3 separate regions of the Homo sapiens genome follow, and regions 2 and 3 are each linked to region 1. The links are contacts of gene promoters, found by promoter capture Hi-C in human tissues and cell types (Jung and others, 2019). All regions are on one chromosome and are shown on one strand. Each heading gives the region's core, a stretch centred on a gene start or on the middle of the fragment in contact. The rest is flanking DNA. Distances are from core to core; before and after follow the strand shown. Region 1 holds the start of RIN1 (Ras and Rab interactor 1). Region 2 holds the start of RBM4 (RNA binding motif protein 4). Region 3 overlaps GAL3ST3 (galactose-3-O-sulfotransferase 3).

Evidence for each region. Contacts are between HindIII fragments. The study calls those that stand out against the background at their distance.
Region 2: a contact is called between a fragment that was not itself captured here and the fragment with the promoter of RIN1 in region 1, in 1 of the 25 tissues and cell types used here (dorsolateral prefrontal cortex).
Region 3: a fragment that was not itself captured here is called in contact with the fragment with the promoter of RIN1 in region 1 in 1 of the 25 tissues and cell types used here (pancreas).

Annotation. Positions count from the first base shown.
Region 1 is chr11:66,333,550-66,337,683 of GRCh38, forward strand. It overlaps RIN1 (Ras and Rab interactor 1), which reads right to left and starts at 2,885. Exons shown (of 10, transcript NM_004292.3): 1 at 2,768-2,885; 2 at 2,429-2,609; 3 at 2,213-2,327; 4 at 2,061-2,133; 5 at 1,858-1,949; 6 at 965-1,702; 7 at 370-675; 8 at 1-109. The coding sequence starts at 2,853. It overlaps BRMS1 (BRMS1 transcriptional repressor and anoikis regulator), which reads right to left. Exons shown (of 10, transcript NM_015399.4): 10 at 3,790-4,134. RefSeq lists an enhancer at 3,365-4,134. The HindIII fragment of the contact is 7,337 bases long and covers 828-4,134 here.
Region 2 is chr11:66,637,115-66,642,072 of GRCh38, forward strand. All of the region lies in intron 1 of RBM14-RBM4 (RBM14-RBM4 readthrough), which reads left to right. RBM4 (RNA binding motif protein 4) reads left to right here and starts at 1,589. Exons shown (of 4, transcript NM_002896.4): 1 at 1,589-1,638; 2 at 2,586-3,009. The coding sequence starts at 2,598. RefSeq lists enhancers at 1,040-1,753, 1,518-1,887, 1,754-2,465. The HindIII fragment of the contact is 5,623 bases long and covers 1-4,851 here.
Region 3 is chr11:66,041,259-66,046,216 of GRCh38, forward strand. GAL3ST3 (galactose-3-O-sulfotransferase 3) reads right to left here. Exons shown (of 3, transcript NM_033036.3): 2 at 4,033-4,269; 3 at 1-2,419. The coding sequence starts at 4,157. The coding sequence ends at 1,249. Among named protein-coding and RNA genes, the nearest start is that of GAL3ST3, 5.4 kb to the right of the region's middle. RefSeq lists a silencer at 4,025-4,074 and an enhancer at 4,185-4,384. The HindIII fragment of the contact is 5,576 bases long and covers 1-4,958 here.

The DNA of each region.
Region 1 (4,134 bases), core at 1,635-4,134:
TCCAGCAGCTCCGACATGTACTCGGCCTCCAGCAGCAGCTCAGGAAGGTCACAGTGGGCCAAGACGAGGCTCAGCAGAGGCAGGAACTCGTCGGCACCCGCGCCCTCCCCTGTGGGGACATGGTGAGAGGAAGAAGCTTCAGGTACAGTCCTTGCTTTAGGCAGTGACCCCTCCCCATGCCCTAGCAACCATTGAGGGGCTTCAGAAAGGATGCGCTCCTCTCTAGGCCTCAGTTTCGCCATCTGCAAGAGGGGAGGGTGGGCTCATTCTCTCCTGCAGGGCTGTTCTAGGGTCCTGGGGACCTGCCGCTGGGGGGCCCGCCTCTGACTCAAAGGGGCAGGGCAGGGTGAGGTGGTGGCAGGGACATACCTTCCTGGGTCCTCAGGGCCATGTAGAGCAGCTTGCAGGCCTGCAGGAGCCGCTTGACCTGGGCGCTGGGTGAGTAGGTGCGGAGCAGCTGCAGCAGCTTCTGGCGCACTTGCTCCAACTCTACTGGGGAGGGCAGGCTCAGGTGGGACCCGAAGGCTCCGGGGCCCTGGGCCCGGGCCAGGCGGAGGCCCTCAGCTAGGCGGCCCAGGGAGCCGTCTGCGGCAAGCCGGCGCCGCAGGCGGGCTGCCAGGATGGGCCGGAGAGGCTTGAGCACAGAGCAATGCAATGACTTCTCCAGGACATGTTCTGCCGGAGGGACAGGGAGGGGTCAGGGGAAGACTGGGGGTATGGGGGGCAGAGGCAAGGGGAGAAGGGAGCAGGGGTAGAATCGGGGAGGAGAGGCAAGGAAAGCAGGAGGAGGTAGCCTGGGTGAGACGGAAGAGTTGGGGGAGAGAGGGGATGGAACTCTCTCGAACAGTGGTAAGACAAGATGGATTTGTAAAGCAGCAGAACAGAATCAGACAGGCTGGCGCTGTGGAGGGGAGCAGAGGGTCGGATGGGGCAGTGCTGGAGCTATGGAGAGACGGAGCCTCACCCAGCCTCTTAGGCGACAGCAGCTTCTCAGGGCCCAGCTCCGCACTCAGCATGGCCCGGGCCCGGCTCAGCGCCTGACGGATGCCCTGCAGCTCCTGGGGCTCGGGCCCAGCCCGCACCTGGGTCAGTAGGTCCTGCACCAGCTGGCCCGCGGCTGTGTGTCGGTCCTGCATCAGTGCTGCCGCAGCCCGGCCCACCTGCCGCTCCGGTGCCAGTAGGGAGCAGAAGGCGGCGCTCATGGACCGAAGCAGAGGTCGTCGGCGGCCCAGGTGGGGTGAGGTCGCTGGGCTCCCCCGGGACCCTGGCACCCCCTCCTCCTCGGAGCTGCTGGGGGAGCCGCAGTCCACCTCTTGGAGGGAGGGCATAGGCGGAAGGCTAGGGCCACTGCCTGCTGGCACGCGGTACCCCACTGAGCTCTCCCTCCGTAGCAGCTGGCAAGGGGGCAGCCGCTCTGTCTGGCTGGGGACTGCCCCTGGCAGCACGGGGACGGGGGGAGGTGGCACGGCAGGTGGAGACAGGGGGCTGGAGGTCTCTGTGGACACGCGCACTTTGAAGCTTCTCTTGAATTTCTCCCGCTTGGTGGGCCCTAGGTCCCCCGGGAACAGGGGGTTGAAGAAGCACAAGGCGGCTCCGGTGCCCTGGTCCAGCTCTTGAGGGGACCGGGCCTTCAGCTGGGGCAACACTGGGCCTCCAGCCGGGCCCCGCTGAGCCTTGATGTTGAGGGAGGAGCTCCAGAACTCTAGGGAACAAGAAACCGACTGGGGCCTCCGGGACTGGTTAGGGGAAGTTTCCCAACCAAGGCAAGGCAGGGGCTTCGGGCGGTGTGCTGCGAGCCTTGCCTTCCCCTCGGCCTCAGCTTGTTCATCTGTGCAATGGGTGGCAGGAAGCCCTTACCAATGCCCAGATGGGAGATGGCCTCCAGCTCTTTGTGAGTGGCTGCGTGGTGGATGGCTCTGGGGAGCTGCAGCGGGAGGAGAAGGATGTCCCTGAGGCCAGAGAGGGGAGCAGAAGGGAGTGAGGGCCGAAGAGGGCGGGAAGGATGGGCTGTCCCAAGGAGCAGGGCCCGTGGACACCAGGCACCCTGCGGGCAGACTCACCGGGTGTGGCAGTAGGCACAGATGAGCTGGACTAGGTCTGGGAACATGAGCTCCGAGCCCTCCAAGGAGACGCCTGAGAGAGGAGGGAAGTGAGGTGCTTCTCTGGGGAACCTCCCTGCTTCCAGCCCCTTCCCGCCAGGCCAGCCCCTCACCGCCAGGGCTCTCCAGGATGTAGTGGCTGGAGACGAAGGAGGGGCCACTGGCTTCAGGCAACCGCATGCACAGGGCCTGGCACTGGCGGGTGTTAGATTTCCGCACGAGGAACGTCTGCAAGTGGATAGGGCTCAGGCAGCTCAGGACCTTGGCGTCCCATCCCTCTCCCTCCCACCCCTGGCTGGCCAGTCCCTGGAGTGTGGGGCAAGACTCACCCCCGGGGGCTCGGTCCTCAGCATGTGCAGTGCGGCCGCTGCGTTGGCTTGCAGCTGCAGCCACACGGGCCGGGTGAGCAGCAGGCGCTCCCGCAGGCTCACAACGCGCCCCGGCCGCTGCGGCCCGCCTGCCTGCCCGCCGCTGGCATTGGGCACGTCATACAGTGGGTCCTGGGCTGGCCTGGGGGCAGGCACCCAGATCTGAGCAGGGAGCCAGGGGCTGGGACCCTTGCTCTCCTCTTCCCCACTCCCGGGTTTCCCACTTTCTCTATCCCCGGATAGGCCCTCCTCTCGCAGCCCCTCCCTGCCCCACCTGGCTGCCCTGCCAACTTCACTAACTTTTCTCTCGCCAGGTGCCCAGTAGTGAAGCTGGACGGGCTGGGGGCTCCAGGAGAGCCCGCGCCTGACTCTCCAGGGCTTTCCATGGCTGGGAGCTCCTTCGCTTCAGGAAGAGAATCCAGTCCCAAGGCAAGGCACGCACATCCCCAGTGAGTAACACTTCCTGAGGGCGGTCCGCCTGTCACACCCGCCAGTTAACTCTTGTGTGTCCACCCTGCCTGGCCAGTGCCCGCCTCCTCTGTTCTGGACCCTGCTTTGGGGGTCAGGGGTCCCCTCCATGCTAGCCCTGCTCTGAGGGCCCCAGCTGGGGGATGCCACCTCCACACACGGCCTCCTGCAGCCTCACCAGCTACTCACATTGCACACGTGGGCGGGAAGTGGTTAAGCGGCCTCAGTCCCCACAGGCCCCAGCCATGCTCTGGGGGCACCTTTGGCTCTGTGGTCAGTTGCTCATCTGCCCCTGGCCTCAGGTCAGCCTTGTGGGAGAGCACCCTCTACTGTCCATAGATGACTCATTCCTGAACCTGGGTTTTAGGATTTTAGGTTGCCATGGAGAAAATATGCCATGTCTCCATGGAAACCAACCTATTTGCTTAACTGAGGTTCTGGGGGTGGTTCTGACACTCAGTGCTAACCAGGGGGAGTCTGGCTGTGAGGTCGTCAGCACATGGCGGTGCTGCCGGCTGCCTCCCACGCACGCAGGCTCTGCCAGCCTGCCTTGCCAATCTGCCAGGCAACTGGGACAGGTGCAGACATGACCCAGGCTCCAAGCACACGCATCCACCCTCCCCGCCGAGGCACTCTCCCGGTGCCATATGTTGACTCTGCCCAGCGCCAGGCAGCCCAGCGCCCACCTCCCCCTCCCCAGCCTGGCCCCACGCACAGTGCTCTAGCCTCTGCTGGGTAGTGTGAGGAGTGGCAATCTGCAGGCACCCTAGAAGTCGGCCTGGTTCAGGTGCTCCCCACGGGAGCCCTGATTCTCTTGCAAGGTAAATCACACACACACACAGGGCACGCCAGAGTCCCAGGAAAGGTTTTAATTCCAGTCCTTGGAATCTGAGAAGCAGACACCAAGAACTGCCCTGAGAACACCTGGGGGGCCTGGCATCTTGCCTCCAGATCCAGCCAGGGTGGACAGACCCCCAGATAATCACGTCTGACTCAGAGTTCCCGCACAGTGGAAACTGGCTCCCTGGCCCTGAGGCCGGACAGCCTGCATCCAACATCAGCAAGAGGATGTGGCTTTGACTTCGGCTGTCTTCTCTGTCAGGGGAGCCCCAAGAGATGGATCTTCAGGAGTGGGAGGTGGCAGGCGGCTCAGGGATGGAGACAGCAGCCTTGCCTGGTCAGGTCAGCTCCACGGCCAC
Region 2 (4,958 bases), core at 790-3,289, 300 kb after region 1:
TAGTTTCACTCTTGTCGTCCAGGCCACTCTTGTCTTGCCTCACTGCAACCTCTGCCTCCCGGGTTCAAGCGATTCTCCTGCCTCAGCCTCCTGAGTAGCTGGGATTACAGGGGCCTGCCACCACATTGGGCTAATTTTTGTATTTTTAGTGGAGATGGCGTTCACCATGTTGGCTAGGCTGGTCTTGAACTCCTGACCTCAGGTGATCCGCCCGCCTCGGCCTCCCAAAGTGCTGGGATTACAGGCGTGGGCCACCGCACCTGGCCCTCGTGTTGGGTTTTAAAACCCACTCTTTTTTTTCCCCCCCAAACTCTGACTTCACCTTTCTCTTTATGAAACCGTTCTCTTTTTGGGGCGGGGGTGGTGGTGAAGAAGCTGCTTTGGATGGTGGTGTGTGGTACTTGTGTCATCTTCACTCCTGATGATCCCTTTCCTCATAAACTCTGCACTGCTTTTAGCCTGTTTTGTTCGTGTTATAAGTTCTTCCATCCAGTCCCTGCACTCCACCTTTTAACCCTTTTCAAAAGCTGCTTCGCAAAGGGTCTTGACTAAAGTTGCTTGCTTAATGAATATGAAGCAGCCTAAGGATGAGAGAAAACGAGGCAGCAGCTGGACCCTCTGGAGAATGTTACTTTGTATTTTGTTTACAGCTGGTTGTGACTAAGCTCTGTCCTCTAAAGTCGGTTCTAGGGGATTAAAACAGCTCTGGCTGATGGCGCCCAATAAAATAAAACAAAAAAACCTTTGCTGCTCCAGTTTTTTCTCAGGGTGGGGTCGGGGTATACTTTAAATCTCCATGGTCTCAGAAAGGTTTCTTCATCGCGGACCCTGGGAGGCTGGTTCCCAGAGGGAACTTGTCCTCAGCGTCTCCTGGACAGTGCAGCCTCCTGCCGGGCCTACTTCTGGAAGGCCATTACAGAGGTCCTTTCACCACCTGTGAGAGGTTTGATTTTGGGGGAGCTCCGGGACTCTCAAGGCTACAGTGTGGACTGCTGGCCCAAGGAGAAGGTTGGTTTCCTGAAGTGGTGGGTGGTGGGTTGGGGGGGGTCTTCGTTGTTTTTCTTCCCTGGCATGTGCCTGCATAAGCTATTTCCACAGCGTCCTGGCCGCGAGGGGGGGTGGTGCTTGGGAGGTTAGAGGGAGACACCTAGAGTGAACGGCAAAATGGAGCGCGGAATACTGTCTGGCTGTGCACGTGGAGGTGGCGAAATGTGGAAGCTTAACGAAGTTGGCGCCATGAAGCTAAAGACTGCTACCCCGGGGCTCTAGCTCGCTCCGCCTAATGGCGGGCCGCACCCCGCCGGCGAAGCCCACGTTTGTAGGTCCGCCCTCACGCTGATCTCTTGCCCAATCAGCGAGTTCGGCTTCGCGAGGTTGGTGCCCATTGGCTTTCGCATAAAAGCTCCGAGGTTACAGACGTTTCCACCTCTTGCCGGCCTCTTAGGTAATTGGCGTCCGTGGTAACCAATCAGGAAGAGGATCTGAGGGAACGCCGGCCTTTTACTTTCTTGAGTGGCCAATCCGGTTGTAGGCTCACCTCCCCCTTCTACTCAGAGCACTGCTGCGGCCGCCGCCATTTTAGCGTTTTGTCAGAAGCGTCCGCGCCGCGAGGAGGAGGCCCTGCTGGTTTCTGTGCGGGTGAGACTCCGAGCCTTTCCACTGCCTTTCTTGTACTGTGTTAAATCTTCTCTCACTCCCTTGGGCTTCGGGGGTGTCCTGGTAGGTCCGCAGTCTCCACACCCGTCACTGAGAGCCGACCTCGGTCCTCGGCATTGCGCGGTAAGCCGGGAGCAGCCCTTCCCCCACCGCCCCCTGAGAATACCTTGCTTTTTTTCGCCCACCCTGTCCCGCGCCCGACATGGCTGCTCTTGGAGCCTCGAGATTTCCACTGGGATAACCCCCTTTCCCTTATATCTGACAGTTACATTCTCGTTTCGGGAATTTCTCGGGCCGTGAGACATCGTCTGGTTAATGAATCTGAAGCTCTTTTCCGCGGCCGCGCATTTCAGTGTTCGGCAGGAGCTAGGACGGTGCCCCGAGAGAGGCGTTCACCACTCCAGTATTTCCTTTATCTCCCACTCCTCGCTGTCTGATCCGAGTCGCGCGTTCATTACTTCCAAAGGAAACTCAAATGTAGCTATTACAAGGCCCATTTTCCCGGAAATGATGGCTGCTTTGGTTCCTACGTGAGGAAAAGCCTGTTGATAATTTCAGGCAGGCAGTCAGCAAGCCTAGTAGACTTTTGTTTTCTGTTGTCCTCCTAGTGGATAGAAAAGCCTAGTACCCCCATTTCTTCATATGCTGTCTTTCATGCCCATTTCTGTTGGAAGGTATCGGTTCTTACCAAACCCTTTGTCTACTAAGGACCTCCCTATTGCAGACGTCTTCTTATTCTTACAGGTTCATGGCGGCTACTATAGCAGGCCTTAGTTCACTCCCACTTCCATTTGATTATTGTGTGGAGGTGTGTGTGCAGGCGTGTGAGAGAGAAAACTGGAAATATACATTAGAGTGAAAGTCGTTGTCTTTTGTGAACGGATGTGGGCCTGAGGTCTTTTGTCAGATGTCTTGTTTTTCTCTCCCAGGCTCTTGTCAGGATGGTGAAGCTGTTCATCGGAAACCTGCCCCGGGAGGCTACAGAGCAGGAGATTCGCTCACTCTTCGAGCAGTATGGGAAGGTGCTGGAATGTGACATCATTAAGAATTACGGCTTTGTGCACATAGAAGACAAGACGGCAGCTGAGGATGCCATACGCAACCTGCACCATTACAAGCTTCATGGGGTGAACATCAACGTGGAAGCCAGCAAGAATAAGAGCAAAACCTCAACAAAGTTGCATGTGGGCAACATCAGTCCCACCTGCACCAATAAGGAGCTTCGAGCCAAGTTTGAGGAGTATGGTCCGGTCATCGAATGTGACATCGTGAAAGATTATGCCTTCGTACACATGGAGCGGGCAGAGGATGCAGTGGAGGCCATCAGGGGCCTTGATAACACAGAGTTTCAAGGTGAACCACCCTCTTTGGGTAGAGGGCTGAACACAAGGCTGTGTGCAGAAAATGGTTGGATAAGTAAAAGGAGAGGTTTGGTAAAGATAACAGCTGTTGGCTGGCTGGTGATGAAGAAATAAGTGTGGGTGATGGACTTCTTATGATGTAGAATGCATGGGACTTAGGGGCTTTACCTTAGGCAAATGTCTCCTGGAGAAAAGCCACTCACCTTTTATTTGGAGCCCCTACGGCTTTTGTGCTTATCAGTGCAGAAACCCTTTTCTTTGAAGGCTTTCTGAGTTACTGGGCCTTTTTTATTTTTTATTTTTTTGTAGTAGAGCACAGTTCAGAGTTCCTCACTCTGAATTTATTGCCCTCAGCACAGGATCAGAATTCTGCATTTTACGTGAAGAACCTCTCAAAAACATGTCAAGCGACACTTATAGGACCAGAATCCTTGTTAAGCTGTCCTACCTTACACAAACTCTTTAAAGGGTTACAGCTCTTGTTGCTTTTATATTATACCTGTACCAAGGGATTGTATTTTGAGTTTAAGGCCACTCTAGAATTACAAGGCTGATTTTAGGACTTCCTGGGGAGGAGGCACTGGGGTTTTAGGGGCGGTAATGACTGTCTTTTCATTGGTTTGGGGGGCTGGACTTTATAAGATTTTGGTGAATAGAGCACTTAGATTTGTGTTATCTTGGAGTCTTAACCAAATGAATCTTTTGTGCCTGGAGGGCAGCATGGGTGATATGTGGATTGTCACTTCATTTGGAAGCATCTCAAATCCCCAGCATTTTGAATGCCTACATGTTGCTCAAAGGAAATGCTTGTTAGAGCATTTTGGATTTTGAATTTTCAGATTTGGGATGCTAAAATGGTACGTAGAACGCAAATATTCCAAAATCTGAGGTCTGAAGCAACAGTGGCAGTTCAGGGGTGGTGATCATGGTGAGTTGCTATCTGAACTCTTCTTTCACCTCCTTTGGGTTCCCAGTGTCAAAAAGAGTGGTGTCCTTTTTTAGCTTAATTAAGCAGGACTGAACAAAAATAATAAAAAATAAAAAAAGCCTTATTCAAATTATGGAGTATTTCCGTGACTCCTTGCTATATTTCAAACCTGTGTTCTGACAGTGTAGTTTGCCGATTCTTTTTCTGGGTACTACCTTTGTTAAGAGTCATTGCTGCCTTTGGCGTCCATTTCCCTTAAATTGGGCTTTTTTAGAGCTGAGAGTCTGATCATTATTTCCCCTAGTAATGGGTGCCCTGTGTCATGGGCATTGCTGTGCGTTAGTAAAGAAAAGTGACACAGGTCTCTCAGGTCTAGTTTGCTTTCTTTTTTTTAATTGGCAAGTTGAGAATTATTTTGTCAACAACTTAATTGAGAGCAAAGGTTGCTCTTGTGGAGGGTTTATGGTGTGATACCTAATTTTTGGACTGTTTCCCACACTTCAGCCCAGTCAGAAGAGGTGGTGTCTGCTTGTAGCAGTTAGGTTTAAGGAGAGGACAGTGTGGTCTTGATTCAGGACAAATTATCCTTATATAAAACTCTGGGTGTCTGAACCCTAGGTCCCCTGACACTAACCTATGCTTAGTTATTTTTACCTTATTTTATGTAATATTGGCGTTTCTCATTTCTTAATACTGTTCTGGTAGAATTATAGATGTATATTGATGAGCAGTAGTTATTAGGGTGGTCTTTTTTCCTTTCCGTTTCTCAGTGTTGGGTATCTTCTCTATTGCTTGCCCACTTAAAATCTCTTTTAGATATTTTTTAAAATTTAACTTCTTTTTCTGGCGTTAGAACCAACAGATCCTTAGATTAAGGCGTTTATTAATGATCTTTATGTCTGGAATGTGCATAGTTGCTTGCTTAGTTGCACTTGTTTTCTCTGGTTTTGTTAGGTGCCAAAGTGGCCCCCTGGGCAAATGCCAGAGACAAGCTAGCACTTTAAGGCACTTAA
Region 3 (4,958 bases), core at 1,221-3,720, 290 kb before region 1:
GTGGCTGGCACACCGTAGACCATAATAGCTATTGTTTTTTATCACTTGTCCAGATACGTCGATATAGCTCTGAAGAAAGTAACAGAAAAAGTTCCAATTCTCTGCTAGTCTTAAGGGAGATTTCACCTGGAAGTGCTGGCTATCTTGCTGTGTTAAAGGAAACTGCAGAAAGGGACTGGTCTTCATCTGAGTCCAAGTTGTCTTCTTGTGAGGAAAGCAGGCCATTAGTGAAGTCAGTGATTCACAGGAGGAGGTCAAATTCTGAGTTAGGCAGCTCCTTATCTGAAAATGATCCTCCTTCCACCCAAAGAGGTGTTGTGCTCTAACCCCTCCAGTCCTTCCTCTTTGCTTACCTGTCTTGCTCCTGTTCCAATGTTTCCCCATAAGCTCCATGAAAATAAGGCCCTATCTATCTGGTTCACCTGTATCCCCAAGTTACAGAGATGATGCTCAGTAAATGTCGCAGAATTTTGTGAAAAAGAACGATGTGGAAAGTGAGTGGGGCTAAGGTGGCCAGTCTGTGTTGGGGGCCCAGTCGGTCAAGCGGTTGAGGAGGGTTGTAGGCCTATGCCAGGTGGCGGGGGACCTTGAGTCCAGGCCCCCATCCTCATGGGTCCAGCCACAGCTCCTCCTGGGCATCCGTTTCATCCTCAAATGTGGGGAATCCGGCTTCTATGACTGACATACAACTCGCACATTTTAAAGATGTTTTATTAAAAAAAAGAAAAACCAACCAAACAAAAATCCCAACCCAAGAACTCTTGGTTCTGGGAGACTGGGAGCAGCTTAGGTCTGTGGGGAGGGTAGAACCTGGAAGACAGAAAAGTATAGGGAGCCTCAAGCCCTGGGAGGGAGAGCAAGAGCAGCCTTTCCCTAGGGCTGAGCCTCTCTCCATGGGGCCTGGGCTTATCCACTTGGAAAAGACAGGTTGTGGGGGCTCAGCCCCCAGAAAAAGGCAGGGTGAGCAGTTCTGGACAGCCCTCAGGCCTCTTGTCAAAATCACCAACCAGCTGGGAAGGAGAGGGTGGCCCAGCGCTGGATCCAGCCTATCAGCGCCGTGCCCGAAGGCAAGGTTCAGCCCACGATCGGGAGCGGGGGCTCAGATAGGGAGGCGTACCCCAAAGTTCAGCGAGGGACTCAAGCCCCTTGAAAAGAAAGGGCTCTCATGGGGGCAGGACATGGAGGCAGCCCCTGGCTGGACTCCTGGGAGGGCAGGGCAGGACCCATACTCCTGGAGGCCTGCGGAGCTCAGGGACCTTGAGGGCCGCGAGGCAGCACTCGGATGGGCCGAGGCGGGGGATTGTCCAGGACGGGCTCGGGCCGAGCCCGCGCACCGCCCCGGCGCTTCTGCTTGCGCAACAGGTAGTTCGAGTACTGGACCTCGGGCATGGCCAGCTTGAGGCAGGCCTCGGTGGCCGGGCCGGCGCCGCCGCCGGGCAGGTCATAGCCCATAATGTCCACCTTGCGGCTGGGCTGCCACGGCTGCAGCTGCTTGGTGCGGATCTGCGCGGCAGGCCGCAGCAGTGGCTCGTCCCCGAAGCAGCGCCGCAGTAGGCGCTGGCGGGCCTCGCGCAGCTCGCGCGCCTCGCGCTCCACGCACGCGCGGCCCGCGCGCGCCACGTGGCGCCAGAAGGTGGCGTTGAAGTGGTCGTAGAGGCCGGCGTCCAGGGCGTTCCAGGTGCGCGCCGCCCGCGCCAGCGCCGCGGGGATGGCGGCCAGGCGCGAGCTGGCGGCGCGCGCGTTGAGCTTGGCGTAGAGCACGTCGTCCAGGTCCCAGGCCAGTAGGCGCCGCAGCAGCACTAGCGACTCGTCGAAGTACTCGGCGATCATGACGAGCGAGAAAACCTCCTCCACCTGGCGGATGAGGCCCGCCAGGTAGGCGGCGTCGTCGCGCGGGCTGCGCTCATTGTCGCCGCCCAGGTCGTAGGCCAGCGTGTTGTGTGCGAACATGGCGAAGTGCTCGCCAGCGCGGTAGTATGCCTCGGGCGCGCGCAGGAAGGCCTCGAGCGAGGCGTTGGGTACGCGCCGGAAGGCCGGGCAGTACTGGTTGTAGTAGCTGAAGAGCGACTCGAACATGGCGGCCGGCTCGCGCAGGATGGTGACATAGACGGTGCTGGGCGGCATGAGGCGCTCCAGCTCCGCACGGTCGAAGCGCAGGTGGCTGGCCAGCACGTGCGGCGGCCGCGTGGCCGGGTGCACGAAGTGCGCCGAGAAGTTGCGGGGGTAGCAGAACTGGTGCTCGCAGCTCGGGTGCGGCAGGGCCACCGTCAGGTTGTGGCGCTCGGCAAAGCGAAACAGGATGTTCTGCACCGTCGTGCCTGCCGTCTTGTGAGTCTTCAGGAAGGCCACAGTCATGTGCTTGGGGCGCGGCGGCGAGTTCCGCAGAGGAGGGCAGCTCAAGGGGAACAGCTTGGGGTACCTGCCAGGCCCAGGGAGTGTGCGGAGAGGAGGGTGTGAGGGGGCTGCCGCTTGACCCCTGCCCTTACCCAAGGACTGTGGGATGCCCCACAGCGCGGCCCCGCCTGGGCTGCACTCATGGAAAGGTCGAGGGCGGTGCTTGGTAGCCTCTAAGATGCCCTCTATGATCCCTGCTGCCCTCCTGGTATTCATGCCCTTGAGTATTCCCCTCACCTGAGTTAGGCTGGACTTATCATTGCATCTAAAGAAGAGAAGAGGGCAGAAATGATGGGATGTCACTTCTTAAATTTCATCATAGAAAGACTGTGGCTGGCTAGTATCTTGGTGTCTTTCACTCAATCTGGGATGACAGATGATGGGGGAAGCAAGCTGCCATATAGTGGGCAGCCCTATAGGGAGCTACCACTAAGTGGGAAAAGCCCACAAGGACCTAAGGCCCTCAGTCCACCAGCCGGCTTGAAGACCTGAAGCCTGTCAAAACCACGTGAGTGAGCTTGGAAGCTGATCCCTTCCAATCAAGCCTTCGGATGAGACTGCATCACCAGCAAACACCTTGGTTGCAACCCCATGAAAGACCTTGGTCCAGAAGTTCCCAGTAAGCCACACCTGGCTTCCTGACCCAAAATAACAGATGTTTGTGTTTTCAGCTGCTAAGCTTTAAGATAATTTGTTTATGTAGAAATAAATAAGGGACAAAGACCCCTGGAGATCTTTGAGGAATCCCACTTTGTATATGTAGAAACTGAGGGCCAAAAGGAGAACAATCACTTACACAAAGTCTGGAGACGACTCACATGGTCACTAAATCCTTTTGCTCTTTCTCATTTTTACTCTTTAACTGGCTCCTCACTTTGTAGATGGTTGGCACTGGGCTTTGCAGCAACCCATTGTTATGTTTCTCTTGAGGCTTCTAAAGCCTCATTAATTCAGTCATCAAATATTTTTTGGGTGTCCACTATGTGCCAGGTTAATGCTAGGTTCAAGAAATACAGTAATATACAAAAACAATCCTAGCCCTCGTGAAGCTTTCATTTCTGTTGCTTCATTCTTAAAACATGGGTGTTTGGGATTTCAAACCAAATTATCTGGCAAGGGGGGCTGGGCGCATTCACACCATTCTCAGGGGCAGACAGTGTAGAAAATGGGGACATGAAGTCTCCGAGAGGTGCAGGGATTTGTTGGGTTCACACAGTGAGTCAGGAGTAGGGTTGGGGTTCCCATGAATCACATGGTATCCTGTGTGAGGGTGACTGGCTGTGTCACACATATCATGTCTCACTTTATAGATGAGAAAACGGGGGCTCGGAGAAGTGAGGGGACTTGGCCTTGCCCAGCACTACGGAAGTTGTGAGAAGTTGTTTCCACTGGGGAAATGCTTAGCTGCATGCTGTGGGGAGTTGAGCTGGATTCGGATCTCAGCTAACTGATTCTGTAACTTTGAGCAAGTCACTCAGCCCTTTCATTGAAGAGCAGTCCCTGTCCAGGGAGGCTGTGTGGCCCTAAAGGGAAAGCACTTTCAGAATAGAGGGGAGGAGCAAAGCCTAGCAGGACCCTTCTAGCAGGTGGAAGAATGGGGAGGGGAGCTCCGGCCCCCCTGGGGCCCCGCCCCCTTACCAGCTGAGCTGCGCCCCCTGGTGGATGAGAAGGCTTACGGTGCTGCACCCTAGCACCAGCAGCAGGATTTTCCGGCGGCTCATCATCTTGGTGGCCTGCTGCAGGCGCTGGAGGATGGGTGGCATGGCGGAGTACCCACCCCTGGACCAGCCAGGGCCTCACTATCCAGGACTCCCTTCACAGGCACTCATGGGGGATCCTGCGGCTCTGGTAGCAGGGCCAGTGTTCCCGAGAAGCCTGGCAGAAGAAGGCAGACGGGTTTGCAGTGGGCAGAGGAGATGGGATCTGGCCCCCAGCAGGTCTGATGCAAAGAGCTCCAACAGGTGGGGTAAGCAGAGAGGCCAGGGCAGATCGGATTCCTACCTCCCGTTATCAAGACCCTATCTCCTCACTGCTCCAGATAACTTAGTCTTGGGTGGAATTACAGGGTCTGGGGTGTAGCCAGCCCTTCAGGCTGTAGCCACTCCCATCCCTCAGCCCTGTCTCTGTCTCTCTGCCTGCTCCTAACTCGTCTTTGTCTCATGGTTATTTGTACATGTCTCCCCAGTGGAGTGGCTTTAGCGCCAGGGCTTGGCTCAGAACATAGAGGTCTCAACTCAAAGTTTCCTCTCCTCCAGGACTCCTTGCCCAATTGCTTTAGCCCAGGGTTGGTCCTGACTCCCCAGAGAAACCGAGCTCCTCGGAAACACTGATCAGGCCTTCACCTCCTTGGATCGATATGGCTTTGAGTCGATACTGCAGGCTTACTCTATGTACTGTATTATTACATACTTAATCCCATTTAGTCCTCACCACAGCCCTGACCTAGGTATTATTCCCACTGTATAGATAAGGAAACTGAGGCTCTAAGAGATTATATCACTTGTCCATAGCTACACAGCTGGTAACAGTAGAAATGAGATTCATACCTGCTGTTTCTGGCTCCA